3 separate regions of the Homo sapiens genome follow, and all the other regions are linked to region 2. Evidence: promoter capture Hi-C in 16 types of primary human blood cells and fetal thymus (Javierre and others, 2016). All regions are on one chromosome and are shown on one strand. The core of a region is centred on a gene start or on the middle of the fragment in contact, and the rest is flanking DNA. Distances in the headings are between cores, read along the strand shown. Region 1 overlaps KLF8 (KLF transcription factor 8). Region 2 holds the start of UBQLN2 (ubiquilin 2). Region 3 has its middle 70 kb from the start of KLF8.

Evidence for each region. The method cuts DNA at HindIII sites, captures the fragments that hold promoters and counts their contacts. A CHiCAGO score of 5 or more calls a contact.
Region 1: a fragment that was not itself captured here is called in contact with the fragment with the promoter of UBQLN2 in region 2 in 7 of 17 cell types (naive CD4 T cells, total CD4 T cells, naive CD8 T cells and 4 more); the score reaches 13.5 in naive CD4 T cells.
Region 3: a fragment that was not itself captured here is called in contact with the fragment with the promoter of UBQLN2 in region 2 in 5 of 17 cell types (non-activated CD4 T cells, total CD4 T cells, naive CD4 T cells and 2 more); the score reaches 8.4 in non-activated CD4 T cells.

The regions. Positions count from the first base shown.
Region 1 is chrX:56,281,213-56,284,712 of GRCh38, reverse strand. KLF8 (KLF transcription factor 8) reads right to left here. Exons shown (of 6, transcript NM_007250.5): 6 at 1-400. The coding sequence ends at 219. Among named protein-coding and RNA genes, the nearest start is that of KLF8, 51 kb to the right of the region's middle. The HindIII fragment of the contact is 7,753 bases long and covers 1-3,500 here.
Region 2 is chrX:56,561,446-56,564,876 of GRCh38, reverse strand. It overlaps UBQLN2 (ubiquilin 2), which reads right to left and starts at 1,250. Exons shown (of 1, transcript NM_013444.4): 1 at 1-1,250. The coding sequence starts at 1,003. RefSeq lists enhancers at 254-313, 324-523, 920-1,547. The HindIII fragment of the contact is 11,191 bases long and covers 1-3,431 here.
Region 3 is chrX:56,300,408-56,304,100 of GRCh38, reverse strand. No RefSeq gene overlaps it. Among named protein-coding and RNA genes, the nearest start is that of KLF8, 70 kb to the right of the region's middle. The HindIII fragment of the contact is 2,157 bases long and covers 230-2,386 here.

The DNA.
Region 1 (3,500 bases), core at 63-2,562, 280 kb after region 2:
GGTTGAAAAAAACGGGTCTGGACAGTGGAGAAGTGAAGGTAGAATATGAAGAGCCCCACGGGAGACCAGCTCTCTTTTCCTCCAGTCTCCTCAACTTGGCTCAGTGGGCTGCTTCAACCCCATATGCAAGCTGAAGTCAAAGAGGAAAAAATTGTCCCAACCTCAGCACACGACCAGGAAAGATACCAGCGCAGCTTCTCTAGTGTGACCTGTGCGGCTCACATGGTGTCATGGCGACGGCGATGCAGGGACAGGTGGTCAGAACGAGAAAAGCTGCGGTTGCAGTCTGTGCACCGAAAAGGCTTGATGCCTGTGTGCTTGCGGAAATGGCGAGTGAGCTCATCTGAGCGAGCAAATTTCCAGGAGCAGCCATCCCAGGTGCATTTATAAGGCTTCTCTCCTAAAAAGGGAATGTGACAAAAAAAAGAGAATCAGAGAGAGGATGATCGGATACTAGAAAGATAATAGAATACATAACTCGTATCAAGGCTTTAGTGAAAAGGCTAGGCAATAACCTTGAAGGCATATGCCTGTAAATCTTTTAAGTTAATTAATTGATTGAGAAGCACTGTATAAATGTACAACATGATGTTTTGAGATGTATATACATTGTGGAATGGCTAAGTCGAGTTAATTAACATACATATTACCTATATACTTATCTTTTTTTGTGGTAAGAACACTTGAAATCTACTCTCTCATTGATTTTCAATAATACAATACATTGTTACCTACAGGAGTTCTAAAGAAAGTCCAAGATGTTAGAGTGGGAAGCACATAGCCTCTTGTTCAAATAGGCCTTTGTGTGATCCGGCTCTACTACAAACTAGCTGTGTGATCTTATATAATCACTTCTCCCTGGCTTGGTCTCTGTTTTCTCATCTCTAAAGGATAAAAATATATCACAAAGTTGTTCAAAACATTTTATTTTTAAAAGATAGCTAGCAACCAATACAACTGGGATCTAAACTCAGGTCTTTGGCACTTTATAATATCCGTTCCTCTAATATCTCCTACCAAACAGTCTAAAATAGAGCCATATGGTCCGGTGCGGTGGCTCACGCCTGTAATCCCAGCACTTTGAGAGGCAGAGGCGGACGGATCATGAGATCAGTATATTGAGAACATCCTGGCTAACACGGTGAAACCCCGTCTCTACTAAAAATGAAAAAAATAAGCTGGGCGTCGTGGAGGGCGCCTGTAGTTCCAGCTACCCAGGAGGCTGAGGCAGGAGAATGGCGTGAACCCGGGAAGCGGAGCTTGCAGTGAGCCGAGATTGCGCCACTGCACTCCAGCCTAGGAGAGAGCGAGACCTGTCTCAAAAAAATAAATAAAATAAAATAAAATAGAGCCATATATACACAGGATGAATGTGTGATTCATTGGAAAGGGCCCTCAGCTAAGGCTACAGGTCTTTTGTGTAAGGTTAGAAACTCAAGGGCATGTAATGGCATGGGGGGCAGTGTCAGGTCAAACTTTTTGAAATAGCTCCATGCCCAGAATCTTTGGGTTGTATTTGAATTATATATAGGATATGTATGCTCAAGATAGAAAGCTAAATGGAAAAAAAGTAGTATAAAAAAATTAACGCAGTATGACCCCATTATGGTATATAGATCACACACCATACATTTGTATACTCATAATAAAGCCAATATCAATACACTTAAATGTACATTATGAGAGAAACTGTTAACAGTGAATGACTTTGTGGAAAGTGAGGACCAGGGATGGTGGGAAGAGAACTTTTCATTTTTACTTTATACCCTTTTGTACTGTTTTAAATGCTTTAAAATCATAATGTTGTATCATATAATAAAAATTTTGAAAAAGGAAATAAGCTATATGAGCAACAATAAATATTAACTGTGGATAAGTCTGGGTTGTAGGATTAGGGTAATGTTTGCTTTCTTCTTAATACATTTTTCTGTTTCCCATCTTCTACAATGAGCATGTATTATTTTACAATCAGAAACAAACAATAATGCAGACACAAAAATGCATTGGTATTCTAACAGTCTCTTTCTCTCGGTCTTTTCCCCTTTACTCCCTGTAAATTACCTAGGGCATTTAATTTTATGCTGTTCTAAATTCTGGTGGCAATCTGGCTTGCATAAACTGTTTTCCAACTTACTACACACCACCTACCAACCCTCCCAAGTGTTTGCTAATTAACTGTATAGTGTTCACATAATGAGCAACAGAATGAAATCCAGTCTGAATCACAGCTTTGGACTATATCAAGGCAAACATTTCAAAGATTAAAGACATCAATTACTGATCATTTCAATATTCAGAAATAGCTGCATTAGCTGCTAAGAAGAATGAGATAAAGCTGGATGTAATGAGACAAAAAAGATGGCAAATGAAATGTTATCAAATTAAAAAAGATACTGAACAACCACACACACACATGCTCACGGAGAGTAGGATCTCATTTATGTTTTCTAAATCTTGTGCCTGTCCTTCTCTGTCTCTCTCTCTCCAAGGAGGAAAGATCTGGAAGGCTATACAACAAATTGTTAACAGAGGGAAGAAGAATAGGATTTCAGGGGATGTTTAGAGTGTGTAAATTAAATTTTCACTTTTTGTTCTATGTGATTTTATAGCATCTCCACATCTCCCAATGGCTGCATTGCTATCTATACATTTTGTTGTGATCTCTCAAGAATGTCTTCTGAGAATTCCTATATACACCTCAACCAATTGAGGAAAATTTGACTTGTAAGGCAGTGACACCCTGTGGTGATCAGAGCTCATTTCTAGAACACACAAATTATTGTAAAGGAATTCAGCAGTGAGGCCCATTTTCCTATTTCAAAAGCATTTACCCTTGTATTATCATTGAACAAGCTCCTGTTTGTGCCAATGAACATCATACAACACAACTTGTAATCTCCATCAACTTATCATTTGAATTAAAGAACAAAGTATATATGCAGAGAAAGAATTCATAATATAAAGCACATATATTAACTATGTGACAAAGATAGTAAGTGTGACATGGCAGGTGCGGTGGCTCATGCCTGTAATCCCAGCACTTTGGGAGGCTGAGGCACATGGATCACTTGAGGTCAGGAGTTCGAGACCAGCCTGGCCAACATAGTGAAACCCCGTCTCTACTAAAAACACAAAAATTAGCCGGGTGTGATGGTGCACACCTGTAGTCCCGCTACTTGGGAGGCTGAGGCATGAGAATTGCTTGAACCCGGGAGGCAGAGGTTGCAGTGAGCTGAGATCACACCACTGCACTCCAGCCTGGGCGACAGAGCAAGACTCTGTTTCAAAAAAATAAGTAAGTGTGATATAAGTTCCAAGGCTAGCTAATAACCTCTGGGTTACTGTGAAGGCACAAATATGGAGGTATGGGCAGGTTTTAGATGAAGAAAGCAACCCAGGCAGCTGGTGGCAAGGTCTTGGCAAGGCAGTGCAGTGAATGGTACATATAGGGTCAGCTGTCTTGGAGCATGGAACATCCTTACAAGAGTATTATGAGATGA
Region 2 (3,431 bases), core at 1-2,500:
TCGTGCTGGTAGTTGCAGAACTCTGGGTAGCTGGCGGTGGTGCCCATGGATTGGGTAGTGGATCGCGATTTTCTGTGCGGGAAGGCTGCGTACCTTCCCCAGAGGAGGAACTACTCCCCACGGAGGCAAATGGATTACCCCCAAACTGCTCTTGTGCGGCATTCAGCATCGGCTCTTGAATGTCAGTGTACATGCGCCGTAAAGCATTATAGCCACCTGGGATGCTTTCTAGATTGCTAAGAGCCAGGTCTTGATTTCTCATCATCTCTTGCATCATGGCTGGATTCCTGGCAATTTCGAGTGTCTGCCTCATTATGTCTGGGTTGTTGAGCAGGTGACTGATTTCTGGGTTTCTCTGAATCAATTGCTGCATCTGTGGATTAGCCATAATGAGCTGCCTCATCAGATCGGGATTCGAAAGCATGCTCTGAACAAAGGGATTTTCCATTATTTGGATCATCATCTCAGGGCTGGCCATAAGCTGCTGCTGCATCTGGCTCTGGAGCTCAGAGAAGTTGGTCGAGCTCAAGCCCAGGCTGCTAAGGCCTGCAAGTCCTCCCAGGCTCCCCAACCCAAACGGGTTGCTATTTGTGGAAATAGGTGTGGAGTTACTCCTGGGAGTCGACGCCGAGGTAGTGTTAGTTCCCGCGGCATTGCTAGGCTGCGTGGACTGGCCCTGAGGTCGGTTCTGGCTTTTGATGACAAGGTGAACAGTCAGCCCATCATGGATGCCATGCTGGATCAAGGTATCTTGATCTTTTAAGATTTTTCCGGCAAAAATCAGCACTAGCTGATCGGTTTGGGATTTGAAGCGTTTCGAAATCGCTTCCTTAAACTGCTGAACCGAGCTGTTCTCGGGCACCGCGAACTCCTCTTTCTCTTTGGGAGTCTTCACCGTGACTTTGATGATTTTAGGCTCAGCCGGGGCAGCAGCCGAGCCTTGGGCCGCAGCAGGGCCGCGGGAGGGGCGCGGGGGGCCGCTGCTCTCGCCATTCTCAGCCATGGCGGCCGCGGTGACGCAGGCGGGCAGGGAAGGCGCGGGCGGGCGAAAGAGAGAGCGCGAGGGAAGGAGGAAGGAAGGAGGCACCGCCGCAGCGGGCTGGGCCGGGTCAGGCGGGGAGCGCGGAGCACGGTACCTCTGTGATGAAGACTGCGGTTCCCTGGTCCTCCGGTGGAGAAAGGCCTGGGCGTAGGCCGCTGGCTGAGGTCTCCGCGCTCCGGTCTCTGGGCCTCCTCCGCCGCCGCCTTGTGATCCGACCGCGCGCACTCCCAGCAACTCTGGCAGCCGCTCCGCCTGCTGATCCCCGCCCCTTCCCCTCCCCCAGTTCCGCGCTCGCCTCCCCGCCCCCTCTGCTGACGCGGCGCCAGGCCTAGATTGATAGATTTGGCTCGGTCAAAATTAAAAACTTCTGCACTGAAAAGAAAAAAGGGAGAGAGAGAAACAAAGGGAGAGAGAGAAGAGAACAGAACAGTACAGAGCAGGCGAGGCAGAGAGGGTGAGACGGAGAGAAGGAGGCGGTAGAGAGTCAGCTTCTGTAAACGACATTAAAAGACCAATGGAGAATGTATATTAGCAATCTGTAAGGCAGTAAAAGGGTGAAAGCCTGAATCGAACAGATCCCACGTATAAGACGAAAAATGAATAATAAAGAACTCTGACAAAGCAAAAAGAAAAGAGGAACACCTCCAGTAGGGGAAGGGAAGAAGACAGAGCAGGAGCGTGCATTTTACAAAAGGAGTGCAAATGGCCAATAGACATTAAAAAAGGATGATTAATTTCACTACTAATAAAAAGAAATCAAGTTAAAACAATAAAATTCTACTTTTGGCTTATCATATTGGCAGGGAAAAAAATAATGGTAAACCTTCTTGTTGACAGGGACCCTAAAAAATGCCCTCTCAGGCTAGCTGAAGTGTGAATTGTTACAACCATAGGGCAATTTGAAAATATATATCAGCATTTTGAATGTTTCCACCTTTATTTAGAAATGCCTAACCTAGACACTTCGCCTAATAATCGGATGAGGATGCAAAAATATTTATGTATAAAATGTATATACATTGTAGCATTTTAAAATGTTATTTAAATATATTAACTATCTGTTTACATGAGATTAGTTGAGCACATTATCATATTACCATACAAGAAAATATAGAGTGTCTTTAAAGGTATACATGAAATAAACTGTAGTTATAGGGAAATCACAGAGTATTTTCAATTATGCCTTTGTATATTTCTGTACAGTTACAAACTATATAAGAATATATGTTCCAATATCAAAAATACAATAAATATATTTTTATTTTAAAAGCAATTTTTGAACAGTTTGTTGTATATGTAAACCGTATGTGTAAAAAAATCTGGAAGGCTATGCACAAATAAGTTAATGGCTGTTAGTACTGTTTGCTGAAATTATGAATAATTCTTATTTTCTATTTTCATAAGATTTTGAATTTTCTGATGATTTTTGTAAGTATGCACTACAGAAAGGTATTTTGGGGAAGAGTATGGGTAGAAATTGACAGGCACATAATAGTAGTGGCAAACATTGACATATTTACCTAATTTAATTACAGATTAAGTAAGAGCAATAAAGATGTAGCAATGCTGAGAAAGAGAACTTGAAAAATAGAAGAAATAATTTCAAATTTATCTATATATTTCTAACTCTAGGTTAAACCACACAGAAAATTCTTCCCCAACCCCCACCCTCTACCAAGCATCCACCAAAGCACCACTGCTTTCAACATTTAACAGCATTTCAAAGTCATTAGGTCACAAATACTTTAATAAATCTGAAGATAAGAAAAATATATATATACAGGTATGTTATATCCATCGATGGAGAAATGGAAGAATTAATATTATTTTACCTCTCTATTTTATTAATATAATTAATAAAATACAGAGGTAAAAAGATGACTAGCTTTAAATATGTTAATATGTATAGATCTAAAAAGCCAAATTAATTAGTATTAGGTTGATGCAAAAGTAATTGCGGTTTTTGCCATTGAAAGTAACGAATTGTTACTATTATACAATGGTTTTTGCCATTGAAAGTAATAGCAAAAACCGCAATTACTTTTGCACCAACCTAATACATGCCAAACAGCACTCTAATACATTCTTATGTATATTTGAAATATTCTTTTAGAAATATACCAAACTTGCACCCATGAGGAAGAGGAAATGGAATAGGATACAGGATAGTGAGTAAAGGGAACTTAAATATGTAAAAATGCTTTTTATCTTTAAAATGAAAGCAAATATGATAAAATATCAGCAATAGTTAATTATGGGTGGTGAGAATATGAAAATATTATAGGTAATCTTTAATTTCCATAGAATAAAGCTAGATATTAATAATCAAAGTATGAACAAAAAACCAACCATTTGATTATTAAAACATAACTGAATACTTTTGGGGCAA
Region 3 (3,693 bases), core at 59-2,558, 260 kb after region 2:
CCTTATGTAGAAAACTGAAACTTGACACCTTCCTTATACCATATACAAAAATTAACTGAAGATGGATTAAAGACTTAAATGTAAAATCTAAAATTATAAAAACCCTGGAAGATAATGCAGGAAATACCATTCTGGACATAGGCACTGGCAGCAATTTCATGACAAAGACACCAAAAGCAATTTTAACAAAACTGACAATTGACAAATATGACAATTAAACTAAAAAGCTTCTGCACAGCAAAAGAAACTATGAACAGAATAATCAGACTACTTACAGAATCAGAGAAAAGATCTGAAAATTATGCATCCAACAAACGTTTAATATCCAGAATCTACAAGGAAATTAAACAAATCAATCTATAAGGAAATTAAACAAATCAATAAGCAAAAAACAAACAACCCCATTAAAAAGTGGGCAAATAACATGAATGGACACTTTTCAAAAGAAGACATACATATGGCTAACAAGCACATGAAAACAATACTAAACATCACTAATCACTGGAGAAATGCAAATCAAAACCACAGTGAGATACCATCTTATACCTGTCAGAATGGCTATTAAAAAGTCAAAAGATAATAAATGCTGGTGAGGTTTCAGAGAAAAGGTTATGCTTGTACACTGCTAATGGAAATGTAAATTAATTTAGCCATTGTGGAAAGCAGTTTGGCAATTTCCAAAAGAACTCAAAGCAGAATTACCATTTGACCCAGCAATCCCATTATTGGGTATATACCCAAAGGAATATAAATCATTTTACCATAAAGCCACATGCACATGTATGTCCACTGCAGCACTATTCAAAATAGCAAAGACATGAAATCAATCTAAATGACCATCAATAGTAGGCTGAATAAAGATAATGTGATACATATACATCATGGAATACTCTACAACCGTAAAAATGAACAAGATCATGTCCTGTGCAGCAACATGGATGAAACTAAAGGCTATTATCCTAAGTGAACTAACACAGGAGGAGAAAACCCAACACCACATATTTTCACTTATAAGTGGGAGCTAAATATTGAGTACACGTGGACACAAAGAAGGAAACAACAGACACTGGGGCCTACTTGAGGGCGGAGGAAGGGAGAAGGGTGAGGATTGAAAAACTACCGTGTCATGTACTATCATGTATTATGCTTTTATTACCTGGGTGGCAAAATTATCTTTTCACCAAACCCCAATTTACAAACCAAACCAAACATGCAATTTACCTATGTAACAAACCAGCATATGTAATTCTGAACGTAAAATATGTTTTTAAAAAAGAAGACTGAAAGCAAACATGGAAAAGGATTAAAATTAGTAAAATGTGGGTGATGAGAAAAGGAAAAAACAAAAATTAAAATTCAGCAGAATAATTTTAAAAGTTAGCCGAATTGACACAGGTAGGGGAAGAGCTGTAATTTAAACCCACTTTTCTATGACTCCTAAGACCGTGTAATTAATCACTATGCTACACTGCTATATTTAGGTTTATCTTATTCCATGGTAACAAATAGCCACATATGGATCAAATTTAAAGTATTTAGAGATAAGTCTTCCAATATCAGTAAAATAGTAGGTTAGGTATCTTGACTAATGCTTACGCTGAAAACAACTAAAGTGTAAATAATGTACAAAACTTATTCTTATATCATAAAGAGCTGGCAAAATAGTATGTTTTTTTGTTCAGGCCAAAATCTACAAAATGTGGCAGTCCACAAAAATAACAGGAGTATCAAAGCCACTTTTGCACATTGAACCCTTGTTTTCATGGGTTTGGTATTCTAAAGGGATGGAAGACAAAGTCTGGACTCCATGTAAGATGGAAAATCTAACAAGAGACCCTGAATCCATAAATTTGGAACCCTAAAGAGCTATATTTTCAGTGAAAGAATGAAGTAGATGTAAACATACCCAACCCACAGCAACCCCCAGAGAACTACAAAGAAAGTTGCCTGGTTCCTATGCATTGCAGGGGATGAAGCCATCACTGAGATTTTATAACTCGAGCACACCCTTATGAGAATTACTACCCAAATTCCCATAATCTAGGTGGCCCTAAAGGCCTCAAGCTGTTATTTAATGTCATTCTACACTAATAATACCCCAAGAGACCTGAAAGAAGCAAATACCAATTTCCTATGGAAAAAGGTTCCATCATCTAAGCTCTTAAAGAAGTCCTATAAATAAATTTTCAAGAATGGGCTGCTCACCACAAAAAAAAAAAAAAAAAAAAAAAACAGTAACAGAGCGGAATAAGGAGCTATGAGGGAGAACTGTCATAAACAAACTGATAGTAGAGAAAGACCCACAAAAACTTCAGATGTTGGAATTCTCAGACAAAAAACATATAATGACTATGCTTGTTACATTTAAAGAGGTAAAATATAAGCTTAAAACACCTGTAATGAACAGTACACTATAAACAATGATCCCACAGATTTATACAATAACCAAATAGAATTTCTAGAAATTAAAAAAACAAAATAAAACCATAAAACTAAGATTAAAACTCAATAGACATTTAGCATTTCACCAAAATATAGTACTCTTGGGCATTAATCTCAGAGAAACTGATGGAGAACAGAATATCATCCCATTAATTTATTAAAAATTACATAAGGAAAATGTACTTTTACAATGAAGAAATCTGGAAAGTCAGTTAATGCAGTGATCAAATGTGGCATTTCAAATACTGGGATAAATTTACATTATGTACCTCATGATAAGATGAAATGTGAAGTACATAGTATAACTTACGTAGTATTTTAACAAAAATTATTTTATCTGAATGTCATAAGGAAACAATCATAATAATCCAGAATGGGAAATATTCTATAAGACCTGGCTTGCACTCTTAAAAAAAAATTCAGTGTCATGAATAAGCAAACAAAATTCCAAGATACTTCATTTTCATTAAAACACACCAAAGAGATATAACCAAATGTAATGTGTAAAACTTCACAGAATCCTAGGTTGGGAAAAAAAAAAAGATCGAAGGCATTTTAGGGGCAATTAGATAGATTTCAATACAACCTTATAGTAGGTAAAAAAATTATGGAATTATTTTTATTCTCTCAATTATGATAATGCATTTTGGTTATGTAGGAGAATATATTTGTTCTTAAGCAATGCACACAAAAGTATTTATTGGTCGATTGTCATGACCTCTATTCCACTCACTTTCAAATCGTTCAACTAAAAGTTTGTGTGTGTGTATGTGAGTGTGTGTGTGCATGTGGATAGATAAATAGGTAAGAGTCACGTGGCAAAATGATGAGCATTGGTAAATTTGGATGAAGGGTATGTGGGTGTTCATTGCAATATTCTTTCAACTTCTCTATAGGTTTGAAAAATTTCAAAAGAAATTGTAGAATAAATGAAGCAATTATTAACAGCTTTATGCTAGTAAATTTTAAATTGTAGTGAAACCAGCAAATCCCCAGGAGAAATACATTAGGATGAACTCAAGAAAGAATAAAATATCCAAAACATTGAGCTAATAGACTGAATTATTCCCACAATAAAAAGCTCTTGAGGTATTCAAGGAATAAATAATTCCAGTCTTAAACAAACTTATCCAAAAAGTATAGAAAACTCTGGAGCTGTCTCATATTCATTTTATGAGACCAGTAAAACTTTGATCCTCAAACCTGGCAAGGACAATTCATAAAAAAAAATTACAGGCCAATCTTATTCAT